Linked DNA regions of Homo sapiens: all the other regions are linked to region 3. The links are contacts of gene promoters, found by promoter capture Hi-C in human tissues and cell types (Jung and others, 2019). All regions are on one chromosome and are shown on one strand. Each heading gives the region's core, a stretch centred on a gene start or on the middle of the fragment in contact. The rest is flanking DNA. Distances are from core to core; before and after follow the strand shown. Region 1 overlaps SHROOM3 (shroom family member 3). Region 2 overlaps SCARB2 (scavenger receptor class B member 2). Region 3 holds the start of SHROOM3 (shroom family member 3).

Region 1 (4,529 bases), core at 1,983-4,482, 340 kb before region 3:
ATCATCTATGTCCACCACAAAACAGAATCAAATAAGTGGTTAGCACAACAAACATAGTGATCTTTTCCATTTTAAAAAATATAAATAACAATGTTCAAGGTTTTACAGTTTTCTTAGTGTGTGTCTTTTTAAGGCTTTATGTTGCAGACCCTTCATTAATGGTACTTGTACCCTGCCATCAGGATACACTGCCCACCAGCAAGGAAGGCCACTGTGGATACATTCCTGAGGGGGACACACACTGATCCATGTTGCCTCAGCCTGTTAAAAACTAAATGATCAAACACCCTCCAATCAGTTCTCAGTTTCATTAACTTTCTTTCTACTACAAAGTAATAATAGAAAGGGGTACGTGTCCAGCAGCATTCGAGCTCTCAGAAGATCAATCAGGAAGGGCAAGAAGGAAAAAGGCTTCCTCCTGGAGAGAATTTTTTTCCTTTCATCAGGAACAAACACCAATAACCCAGATAGTTCAAACAGTGGTTTGTACTGAAACATTTTTCAGATTAAATAGTGTTGAGAGAAACAGTGATCTTTTGGTTGGGTATTTTAGAAGAGGTTAAAGTGGAGAGGTTAATGTTGGGAAAATACCACTGAAAGTACAGCCCCCAGCAGGAATGGGCTCACTCGTGAGGTTTGGGGGCAGAGCCAGGGCCCCAGCCTTGGGAATGAAATCTGAGGGCAGGCTCTCCAGCAGACACTTGACCTGCTCCTGGCCCAGCTTGATCTTGTCATCCAGCTTCCGTTGCTCAATGAGGAGCGTGGACTTCATTTTCACGAAGTGCTGGTAGTCCTGGAGCTGCTCCTCTGAAAGGTAATTGGCCAAGATGCCCAGCACTACTCGCTCCCTGCGATCCAGGTTCTCCTTCAGCTCCCGGGCATCCTCATGCTGACCAGCCAGGATCTTCCTTTTCTCGTAAAGAGAGCTCTGCCAGGGAAAATTGGACAGATCAATGAAGGCCAGGGAAAGGGAGAAAAGAGCCAGACTCCCTGCAAGGACACCTCTGACAGGACTGGGAAATATCTAAGCTCTATTCCTATTGTCACTCCTAAGTAAGGAGGCTAACTTTTTGAAAATCAGATTATCCTTATATTACATATTACAGCATTCTCTAAATTGTAACATCATAGGATAGCTTCAGTTTGAGAGCTGTTACATTAAATTGGCTGGAGATAAAATTGCTTTCAGATTCTTGACTTTAAAAACCAATCATCAGCTGGGCTTGGTGGCTCACGCCTATAATTCCAGCACTTTGGGAGGCCGGGATGGATGGATCACTTGAGGCCAGGAGTTCAAACCCAGCCTGGCCAACATGGTGAAACCCCGTCTCTACTAAAAATACAAAAATCACCTAGGCATGGTGATGCATGCCTGTAATACCAGCTACTTGGGAGGCTGAGGCATGAGAATTGCTTGAACCCAGGAGGCAGAGGTTGCAGTGAGCCGAGATGTGCCACTGCACTCCAGCCTGGATGACAGAGTGAGACTCTTGTCTCAAAAAAAAAAAAAAAAATCATCAAGGTACCTTGAGTATATACATGAATACGGTGGTTCTCAAGGTGTGGTTGCTGGACCAGCAGCAGTGGCATCACCTGGGAAATTGTTAGAAATGCAAGGGTTCAGGCCCTCTTCCACCTCTTGAATAAAAAACTCTGGAGGTGAGGCCCAGCAACCTGTTTTAACAAGCCTTCCAGATGATTCTTTTGCGGCTAAAGTTTGAGAACCTCTCCCTAATCCATAATAGCAATGAGATCATATTTCCCATCTCTAAAGAAGCCAGTTTCCATTTTTTCAGTTCTCTTTTGCAGGCCTCTGATCCAAAATGAGAGAAATTCTGTTCAACAATGACGGCAATGTCATATTCTAAGAGTTTCTTATGCTTTTCTATGATATTGTAGCATATGTTATCTTTAATGTGGTTTTCTCTCCAACATGATCATTTTTAAATTAAAAAAATTATATTTAACCATTCAGACATTTTAGGCAAAGTAACTGAGGAGACAAACCCACAGCCAACATTATACTGAACAAGGAAAAGTTGAAAGCATTCCCCCTGAGAACTGGAACAAGACAAGGGTGCTCACTTTCACCACTGCTATTCAACATTGTACTAAAAGGTCTAGCCAGAGCAGTCAGACAAGAGAAAGAAAGAAAGGGCATCCAAATTGGTAAAGAGGAAGCCAAACTGTTGCTGTTTGCCAACGATATGATCCTATACCTAGAAAACCCTGAAGACTATCCAAAAAGCTCCTAGATCTAATAAATGAATTCAGTAAAGTCTCAGGATACAAAATCAATGTACACAAATAAGTAGCACTGCTATACACCAACAGCGACCAAGCTGAGAATAAAATCAAGAACTCAACCACTTTCACAATAGCTGCAAAAAAATAAAATACTTAGGAATATACCTAATCAAGGAGGTTAAAGACCTCTGCAAGGAAAACTATAAAACACTGCTGAAAGAAATCATAGATGACACACACAAATGGAAACATATCCTGTGCTCATGGATGGGTAGAGTCAATATTGTGAAAATGACCATACTGTCAAAAGCAGTCTACAAATTCAATGCAATTCCCATCAAAATACCGCCATCATTCTTCACAGAACTAGAAAAAACAATCCTAAAATTCATATGGAACCAAAAAAGAGCCCGCATAGCCAAAGCAAGACTAAGCAAAAAGAACAAATCTGGAGGCATCACGTTACCCAACTTCAAACTATACTACAAGGCCACAGTCACCAAAACAGCATGGTATTAGTGTAAAAACAGGCATATAGAGCAATGGAACAGAATAGAGAACCCAGAAATAAAGCCAAATACTTACAGCCAACTGATCTTCGAGAAAGCAAACAAAAACAAAGTGAAGAAAGGTCACCCTATTCAACAAATGGTGCTGGAATAATTGGTAAGCCACATGTAGAAGAATGAAAGTAGATCCTCATCTCTCACCTTACACAAAAATCTATTCAAGATGGATCAAGGACTTAAATCTAAGACCTAAAGCCATAAAAATTCTAGAAGATATATTTAACTGAAGGAAGGAAGTACATGTCTTAGTGGCTTCTAGTTTGAATTCATTTATATTAAGCGTCTACTGCTTCTTTTGCACAACAGAAATTAAACTCCACGGTTTTTGTAATTAGTCTTTCATTTTTCTCTTAGCCTAAAATAGCTAGATGGAAAGAAGACAATCTTCTAGGCATTGGCTTCGGCAAAGAGTTCATGACAAAGAATCCAAAAGGGAATGCAACAAAAACAAAGATAAATAGATAGGACTTAATTAAACTAAAGAGCTTTTGCACAGCAAAATAAAAACAGCAGAGTAAACAGACAACCCACAGAGTGGGAGAAAATCTTTGCAAACTATGTATCCAACAAAGAACTAATATCCAGAATCTACAAATAAATCAGCAAGAAAAAATCCCATCAAAAAGTGGGCAAAGGACATTAATAGACAATTCTCAAAAGAAGATGGACAAATGGTCAACAAACGTGAAAAACTGCTGAACAGTTCTATCAGGGAAATGCAAATCAAAACCACAATGCAATACCACCTTACTCCTGCAAGAATGGCCATAATCAAAAACTAATATATGTTGGCATGGATATGGTGAAAAGGGAACACTTTTACATTGCTGGTGGGGATGTAAACTAGCACAACCACTATGGAAAACAGTATGGAGATTCCTTAAAGAATGAAAAGTACATCTATCATTTGATCCTGCAATCCCACTACTGGGTATCTATCCAGAGAAAAGAAGTAATTATATGGAAAAGAAACTTGCACACCCATGTTTATAGCAGCACAATTTGCAACTGCAAAAAAGGGAACCAGCCCAAATGCCCATCAATTAACAAGTGGATAAAGAAAATGTGGTATGTGTGTATATATGTATGTGTGTGTGTGTGTGTATATATATAGTATGTGTGTATATATATGTGTATATATGTGTATGTACACATATATATGGTGTGTGTATATATATAGTATGTGTATATATGTGTATATACACATATACAAATATGTTATGTATATATACACACACACACATTTTCTTTATTCACTTGTTAATTGATGGGCATTTGGGCTGGTTCCCTTTTTTGCAGTTGCAAATTGTACTGCTATAAATATGAGTGTGCAAGTGTCTTTTCCATATAATTACTTCTTTCCTCTGGATAGATACCCAGTAGTGGGACTGCTGGATCAAATGATAGATGTACTTTTAGTTCTTTAAGGAATCTCCATACTGTTTTCCATAGTGGTTGTACTAGTTTACATTCCCACCAGCAGTGTAAAAGTGTTCCCTTTTCACCACATCCATGCCAACATGTATTTTTTTTTATTGCCATTCTTGCAGGAGTAAGGTGGTATCACATTGTGGTTTACACACACACACACACACACACCCCATGGACTACTACTCAGCCATAAAAAAGAACAAAATAATGGCATTTACAGCAACCTGGATGGAGTTGGAGACCATTATTCTAAGTGAAGTGACTCAGGAATGGAAAACCAAA
Region 2 (4,281 bases), core at 626-3,125, 260 kb after region 3:
TCTTGTTTGGATGATATCACCGTTGCTACAATAAACACCTTCCACTACAATTCATCTTCTGCTTTATTACACGTTGAGTTGACAGAATGCCTTCCAAACATTCCTTTCTACTTACCCTGTGAGCTTTTGGCCATGTTGTACCTGAGAACTGTTGCTAACTTGCGGATTTCGGGCAGATTACACTGACCAGAGTCCACATTCACTTTTTATTCTTACATCCTAACAGGTCAGTGTATATTACTTTCAGTGACTATGAGAGTGTACAGGGACTGCCTGCCTTTCGGTATAAAGTTCCTGCAGAAATATTAGCCAATACGTCAGACAATGCCGGCTTCTGTATACCTGAGGGAAACTGCCTGGGCTCAGGAGTTCTGAATGTCAGCATCTGCAAGAATGGTAAGAACTCAGAGAGGGGACATGATAGGGGTGTCAAGAATGCAGAAGGATTGGAGTTCAACAAAGAATATGTAGCTGGGCGTAGTGGCGCACACCTACAGTCCCAGCTACTAAGGATGCTGAGGTGGGATGATCACTTGAGCCCAGGAGTTCTCAAGTCCATCCTGGGCAACATGGCGAGACCACTGTCTCTAAAAAACAAAACAAACAAAAAAGAATATATTGTCAGCCCAATAGAAAGATCAGTTTCTTTCAAGAACAATGTTTCATAACATGGCTATTGAATGGTAAAAAAAAATCATGGCTTTTCTGTGATGCTTTTTATTTCTAGAATGCCATGTTGTGTTTTTTTTTCTGGACAGTGGTTTAGAAGTCTTAACAGTAATAATAGCTCATGTTTACTAAGCACCTGATGTATGCCAGTCACTGTCCTAAGTGCTTTACATATTTACATGTAGTTAATGCATGCAAAACATTAACTGATTTCATGTTCAAAACAATGCTAAGGCTGGGCACGGTGGCTCATGCTTGTATTCCCAGCACTTTGAGAGGCCGAGATGTGAGGATTGCTTGAGGCCAGGGGTTCAAGATCAGCCTGGGCAACATAGCAAGACCCTGTCTCTACAAAAAAAAAAAAATTAAAAAATTAGCTGGGTGTGGCGGCACACACCTGTAGTTACAGCTGCTCAGGAGGCTGAGGCAGAGAGATTGCTTGAACCCAGGAGTTCGAGGTTGCACTGTGCTATGATTGTGCTGCTGCACTCCAGCCTGGGCAATAGAGTGATTCCGCACCTCCCCACCAAAAAAAAAAAAAAGCTAAAAGAAAAAGTGGACAACTCAGTTTTAAGAAAGTACGTATCATGGCAAAGATTCTCAGTGATTTTGAAGCAGAGTTAGTTTTAAACCCTGACACAAATGTCCCAGTGTTTCTTAATGTCAGAGCTACTCTGCTCCTTTCCATGAATGAGGCAGAATTATCAGTGGCACAACTGACAAAACTATTTTCTTCATCTTGAAGAGTAGTTTTAACAGCCACATGTTGCAGAATTATTCACAATGAACTTACTAGATAGTAGACATTCAGCGGCCTGTTTTTATAATTGGGGAAACTAGGGCTCAGAGAGGGAACGTGATTTTGATGCGACTCCTCCCTCTGAGCAGATCCCTGGCGGAACTCAGGGTCTTCTCATATTTGCCCTGTGATTCCCTCTTGGGCTGTAATTCCTCTTTAAAATTTCTCTGGAGAGCTCTCTGTGTAGTCCCTTTCTCCTGAATAGTAATGTGCTCACTTTTGCTCCCTTATCTATCTCATTTTAAAATCTCCTTTCAGGCCTGGCATGGTGGCGTGTGCCTGTAGACCCAGCTACTCAGGAGGCTATGGTGGAAGGGTCGTTTGAGCCCAGTTTGATTCTAGCCTGGGCAACATAGCGAGACTCCATCTTTTAAAAAAGAAAAAAAAAAAAAGAATAAGATATCATTTTGGAATAAGTCTGAAGTCAGCAGTATACCTCCTGATCCTTGTCTGACAGGGCAGTGACCCCCACACCTGGCTTTACATCAGAATTATCTGGAGAGTTATTAAAAATATATTGGTGAGGCATGGTGGATCATGCCTGTAATCCTAACACTTTAGGAGGCTGAAGCAGGAGGCTCACTTGAGGCCAAGAATTTAGACCTGCATGGGCAACAGGGAGACCCCATCTGAACAAAAAATTTAAAAATTAGCTGGGCATAGTAGCATACACCTATAGTTCCAGATACCCAGGAGGCTGAGGCTGGAGCGTAGGAATTCAAGGCTGCAGTGAGCTATGATTGCAACACTGCACTCCAGCCTGGGCAACAGAGTGAGACCTGGTCTCAAAAAACAAAAAAATTATATATATATAAAAAATTGTTTATATATACGTATATCATATATATGTGTATATATACATATATATATACAACTGACAAAAGTATTTTTCATCTTGAAGACTAGTTTTAACAGCCACATGTATATATTTATGTATGTATATGTTAATATATTTGTTAATATATGAGTATATTAACAAATTTTATAGTTATATATAAATATGCATATATTTGCATATACTTATATTTGCTATATTTTAATATATATGTATATAGTATATATATATAGGTATACACACACACGTGCGCAAGTGTGCACACACACTCATGGTGCACACACATGCATGTATGTCCCAGGGTCCCATGTTGGATATACCAGGGCCCCAGAATCTACACTTTTAACAAGTACTCCAGCTGATTTCCATAAAGATGGCGTCTAGGTATTTGGGGACCATTGTGCAAGGGAACATGGTACCCTTTACCTGGAGATAAAGACCAAGGGTGAATGGGAACAAGTTCCTGGTTGTGATCTCCCCCATTGCCTTACTGGTAATAGTCCTGAAACAGTGTCCCTGCCCCCTCATCTGGTGTGCATCTGGCTCAAAGCAAAAATGTAGATATATTTTCTCTTGCTGTTTTTATTAAATTCTGTTTCCTTAAGAAGCTGATGCCAGAATCAACAGAAGTATTCTACTTTACACATTTAAACTTCTTGCTACAATCCTTTTCCTCTTCCCTCTTAACGTATTCCCGAATTTGGACTGAAGTGAAACTCCCCAGGATTATCCTCCAGTGTTTTGAATTCTCCAGGGAAACATTTTGGATAGCAGGATGAGTGTTCTGGAGTCAGGCAGATTGGGTTTGAGTCCTATTCTATTTGTTGGTAAATTGGCCAAAGTTTATTAAGGAGGGTTCCAGACATCAGTTTTCTCATTAATAAAATGGAGGTGGTTATAGCTTCTTGAGGTTGTGTGAGAGTTAGAAATAATATATATAAAACACTCAGGACAGTAGCCCCTATTAAGCCCTCAACAGATTTAAAAAATACATTTTCAAGGTCATTATAGGTCACAAAGAAGGAAGTCATGCCTTTGTGGAACTATTCAGCAGTAAACAGCAAAATGCATGTGCATGTGAGAGATGAGGGATGAGTTCCTTAAGCCATGGGCTGGTGAATATGTAAGCAAATTTAAATAACTTGCCGACAAGCTCCTTTCTCCAAAAATGTATTTCCCTGGCAGCAATTGTTGGGTCCCTCTCTTCTTTTCAATAGCCAGATCTAGAATAGGTTTCCTTTAGTAACTTGTTTCCCTATTTGGTTATATATATATATATATATATATATATTTAAATTTACATAAGCACTTATTTGGTTCTTAAAATGAATAGGAAAGGAAAAACCCCAGAATCTTTGTGATCTGGTTAGAGGCTGGGTGTATAGCACAACCAGGCTAACTCTTAAAAAATTATGTAGGCCAGGTGTGGTGGCTCAAGCCTGTAATCTCAGCACTTTGGGAGGCTGAGGCGGGCAGATCACTTGAGGTAAGGAGTTCAAGACCAGCCTTGCCAACATGGTGAAACGCTGTCTCTACTAAAAATACAAAAAAATTATCCGGGTGTGGTGGTGCATGCCTGTAGTCCCAGCTACTTGGGAGGCTGAGGCAGGAGAATTGCTTGAACCTGGGAGGCGGAGGCTGCAGTGAGCTGAGATTATGCCTGTCTTTGGTAAAAACAAAACAAAACAAAACAAAAAACCACCAAAAATTTTTTTTTAATTTTAAAAAGGACAAGAAATAAAAAGTCAGTCCACTTACTGATAGAGAATTGTAGTTGAAACTAGTGCTTTGAGGTACAACACCCTTCATTCACTTAGTATTCTGCCTTCATAGCCTGATGGCTAGCTGTCCCTGGGTAAATTTTGTAACTTCTATGAACCTCACTTTCTTCAAATGCAAAGTGAGGCTAATAGTTCTGACTTTACTGGGCTGTTGGGAGCATTAAATAAAATAATGTGTATGAAGCACTTATACTTTA
Region 3 (4,249 bases), core at 723-3,222:
CGTGGCTTATCACTGTGAAACCCAGTTCTCCCTGGCTCATCCACAGTAAGAATTACTTCAGTAATTTGAAAAATAACCTTTTGGAATTATTTCTGGGGATATGAAAAGTAACCTGAACCAATAACAGAGCTCAAATGCAATCCATATTACCTTCTTCCCACCCTCAAATTAAAAATTTTTTCTCCCTTAATTACAAATGTTTCTTGATGAATGCACATGTGTGAAAAGCCATTATAATCTATTGTATCAGACTATTAAATACTCTAAAAATTTAAAAGCAATATTATAACAAGTAATGTTAATCTGTAGTTTAAGAGAAAAATAGAAATATTAACCCCAGTACATAAATATTTCATTGGTATGACTACCCACACCAAAAGATAAATGAAGAATTGAGGTATGCTGCAGGATGACTAAGGTTTAAAAAGGGATTCAAATATACAGATAAATAGGAGAGGCAGAAATGTTTTGATCTTGAGTTATGCTGAAAGCTGATTTAATTCTCCTTTCTGAGTGTGGGGAAAAAAAGCAACACATGGTATTTATGCAATCTATTATCCAGAATTATAAGCAAACTTAAAATATTTTTAGATGCTATTTTCAGTTGAAGAGAGAAAAAGCAGATATTTTTGAATGCACAAATATATACCATGCCACCATCTTAACCATGTTATTAATCTTTAATCTGATTTATAACTGAAAAGCTCATGTGGTAACTGATTGTATGCGATTTCATTCACAAAAAGAGAAGATTATCCATCAAACAGGCATATTTTTCTTCGGATTTCATAGAATAAATGAGCTAGACACATTTTTCTTTCAAATCCCAGGCTATCCAAAATATTTCTAGATAATCAGAAAGGCATGAAACAGCAAATTAAGTTATATTAAGGCAGTTCTCATTATTTTGCATTTTTGACAAATCTGACAAGTTGAAAAAAACAATTTGAATAAAGGCAATATTGGAAAAAGAAACATACCTTAGAGATGATTAATGGTTCTCCGTGCTCCAGGCCACCCTTTAGAGTAAAACCCCAGGGAGCTCCTCCCTCCAGGAATGCCTCCAGATAAATGTACCTTCCCTTGGTGGCCGTGTTAGAGTTTAATGTGGCACTAGGCTTGTGGAAGTCTTCAGTGGTCCTCATCATGCCAAACACATGATCCCTCAAGTTAAATTTAAAATGCCTGAAGCAAACTCAGGCAAGCAGTGCTTCTACAGCACAAGTTGTCCCATCCTTCAGGACACACAATGGCCAAAAGAGAGGTTTGGAGAAGCAAATTCTTCCATACGTAAAATGTTCTTCCAAGCTGAACTCCAAGATGCTGAACCAGAAGGAATTTTCACTTCAACATTTCTGAATGTAAATCCTCCTCCAGGAATTCTGGGTTCTCACTGAAGCCCCCAAGTGGTATACATCTCTACTCCGTTCGTCAAAACTTCCTTCAGTGGCGCTCTGAAGATTGCTTTTCTGAGCTTTTATTTCACACATACACACACTAAAACCATTTCTGCCTATTTTACAGAGAAAATTAAAAGCATCTTACAATATAGTAAGAAAATCACAAATACTCAAAGGAATACCTCATTTTTGATTGATTATCAACCCTTTCTTCCTCTCGGAGTGAAATTTACCATTACAATAGCCTCCTCCCTCCCCAGAAGTAGCTTAAAAAGAAAGAAAGCACTTACTATGCTTCGGCTCACTTCAGAATTTTCTAACTTGTCCCGAAGAGACAGAGAAGCTGTGCTAAAACTTTTTACTTCTTTTTTTCAACAATCAGTTCATAGTTTGTTTCTTAGGAGAGAAAAAAACTTTTGCAGGATGTAGAGAAAATGAAAAAGCACGGTAAATTAATCCTCAATGGAAAAAATATGAAGGAGGCAGCTCAGTTCTTTTCTTTGGTATTTTCAGTGATGATCAGCCACTGCTGCGGCCGCCACAGCCACTTGCCTCCTCTTGAGAGAAAGAGTAAGGAAGTTAGAGGAACATGGATTAAGGCAAAGTGAGGCATTGCAACCTTTCTGCACAGTAAGCACTGCCATGCAGAATTCAGCTCACCACAAAGACCTGACAATTCAAACAGTCTTACAGTTAATAACACGTAGGAAGTTAAAAATACTATACAGATGGCTAATTGCCAAGGGATAGAAAATAGTTCCTAGAATAGCCCCGCCTCGTACCAATTAAAGGAGAATTTCAGGGAGTGAGACATAGGCATTTGTGTTTTTAAAAACCCTCCAGGCAATTCTGCTATGCAGCCAAGTTTGAGAAGCAATGCCTAAGTGATTTGGGTAAACGTTTAAGTACATGTCAAGGTGGTGGCACAAGGGCTTTTTTTTTTTCGTTAGAAGAAAATACTACCAGTGTAATATATGAAATGGGACTTTCCAATCAAAGTTCTGCTTGTTTGACTCAATAAAAACAGGAGGTGGGTTTTTTTTTCTAGGTTTTCATTGTTATCTACTCCAAGATTGTTATCCACTCTTTAAATGAAAAGAAATCTACAATGCCTTGTGGGTAAGTACTAGGTACTCGGGAAAGAATGTTGTTCTGATTTCATGTTACCAGTGTCATTTTGTAATAATGTTATATACAAATTTAACATTCATGCTTTGTATTAAAAATTTGAACAGTAGAAGATAACCATATCTAACCCAGAAGCCTCAGCTATTTAGTTATTGGAACAGATTAGAATTACTTCCAGGTAATATATGTACTAAAACTTTTTTCTGTTTAAAAGTATGGGATAATGAGAATTAAGTTGAAAACTGAAGTTAAAAACTACTGTGGGGCTTGATAACAATTATTTTGGTGTTTGTACTTATAATTAATGAAAGGCTGATATGGAAAGGCAGGTATATGATATCAAACTACACGATATTTAATTTACAACACTGGACAGGTATTGTTTGATTTTCAATGGTAACTTCACTTGAAGGGCTCAAAGACAAAAAAAAAAAAAAAAAAGTAAAACCTTATGTAATGGTAGTATGTGAATGGAAACATAAGGAAACCTAAGGTGTACCAAATGAAAGTATGTGGTAAAAATTGGCTGATTCTTAAGGGTAATTTACGCAATTTCTATTGTGGTTTTCTTTTACAGCTTAATTTGTAAGTTAGAATAAATGGAGAAACATTAGCTTTTCTTTCATTTCAAAGAACATATGTATTTTAAATAAAAGTCCTAGGTAAATGAACAGCTTTCTTTCTGAAAAAATTAATTTATGAGGCTCTTATTATGTTACTCCTAATACATTTTGTAAAAACTGGGATTTTACAGAATCCACATTTAATATTAAAAGTAACATAGCTATACAAAATTTCAGTTAGGAGGCATAAGCTCAAGAGATCTATTGTACAGCATGATGACCATAGTTATAACAATGTATTGTATATTTGGAAATTGCTAAGATTAGATTTTAAGTGCTCTCACCACAAAAAAAATTAGTATGTGAGGTAATAGGTTAATTCCTTGATTTAGCCATTTTACAATGCATACTTATATCAAAACATCATGTGGTACACCATAAGTATATATAATTTTTAGTTGTCAATTTAAAAAATAATAAACAAAAAAAGTAATGAAGCTAAAGGCAAAGGAAATAAGGAAAAGATAATATGAACCCAGTGCTTGCAGACTGATGAAATCTCCATTTTAGATTATCACCAAAAATATTGAAGAAACAAACATAGAACCAAAATTGATATGTAATCTGAAAAAAAAATGTAAAACTTCATTTTGTGGACCTTCACTATAGCAGTTGATAGACCAGGTTTGGAAGAACTTTTTTCCTCCATCTTCTGTTGATCAGATTCAAAGAATGTTAAAGCTGCAAGAGACAATCCTCCCACACCCTTGATTTTAGAGGTAAGGACACAGAGGCCACCAGAAGGTTAAATGATCTGACCAGAGTAATCCTGCAAGCAACACAGGCAGGCATGAAATTTAAATCTTCAGACGTTTAGGAATGAAATCCTAGCTTAAGTCAGGTGTTCTGCATAGTTTACGGTGAAAAGACAACTTTCTTTTGGCATAGCACTGCTAATTCGTAAGAAGAACTTCTGTTAGGATATGTGATTTGGATGCAAACTCTTAATTACAGAATGCAATCAGACTCCTCCCCAAGAAGAGAAAGGCAACTCTATTGTCTCAAGGTGCTGACAGTGGAAAGAAAGGTTGGGATTCTAACTGAGAACAGCATAGGACTCAGGCTTTCTAATAGAGGACTTCTTTTATGCCCCATTCA

Evidence for each region. Contacts are between HindIII fragments. The study calls those that stand out against the background at their distance.
Region 1: a contact is called between a fragment that was not itself captured here and the fragment with the promoter of SHROOM3 in region 3, in 1 of the 25 tissues and cell types used here (mesendoderm cells).
Region 2: a fragment that was not itself captured here is called in contact with the fragment with the promoter of SHROOM3 in region 3 in 1 of the 25 tissues and cell types used here (thymus).

Annotation. Positions count from the first base shown.
Region 1 is chr4:76,775,208-76,779,736 of GRCh38, reverse strand. SHROOM3 (shroom family member 3) reads right to left here. Exons shown (of 11, transcript NM_020859.4): 11 at 1-928. The coding sequence ends at 560. All of the region lies in intron 1 of SHROOM3-AS1 (SHROOM3 antisense RNA 1), which reads left to right. Among named protein-coding and RNA genes, the nearest start is that of SHROOM3-AS1, 25 kb to the left of the region's middle. The HindIII fragment of the contact is 8,803 bases long and covers 1-4,529 here.
Region 2 is chr4:76,170,259-76,174,539 of GRCh38, reverse strand. It overlaps SCARB2 (scavenger receptor class B member 2), which reads left to right. Exons shown (of 12, transcript NM_005506.4): 7 at 227-396. Among named protein-coding and RNA genes, the nearest start is that of NUP54, 24 kb to the right of the region's middle. The HindIII fragment of the contact is 8,018 bases long and covers 1-4,281 here.
Region 3 is chr4:76,432,952-76,437,200 of GRCh38, reverse strand. It overlaps SHROOM3 (shroom family member 3), which reads right to left and starts at 1,972. Exons shown (of 11, transcript NM_020859.4): 1 at 981-1,972. The coding sequence starts at 1,148. The HindIII fragment of the contact is 12,167 bases long and covers 1-4,249 here.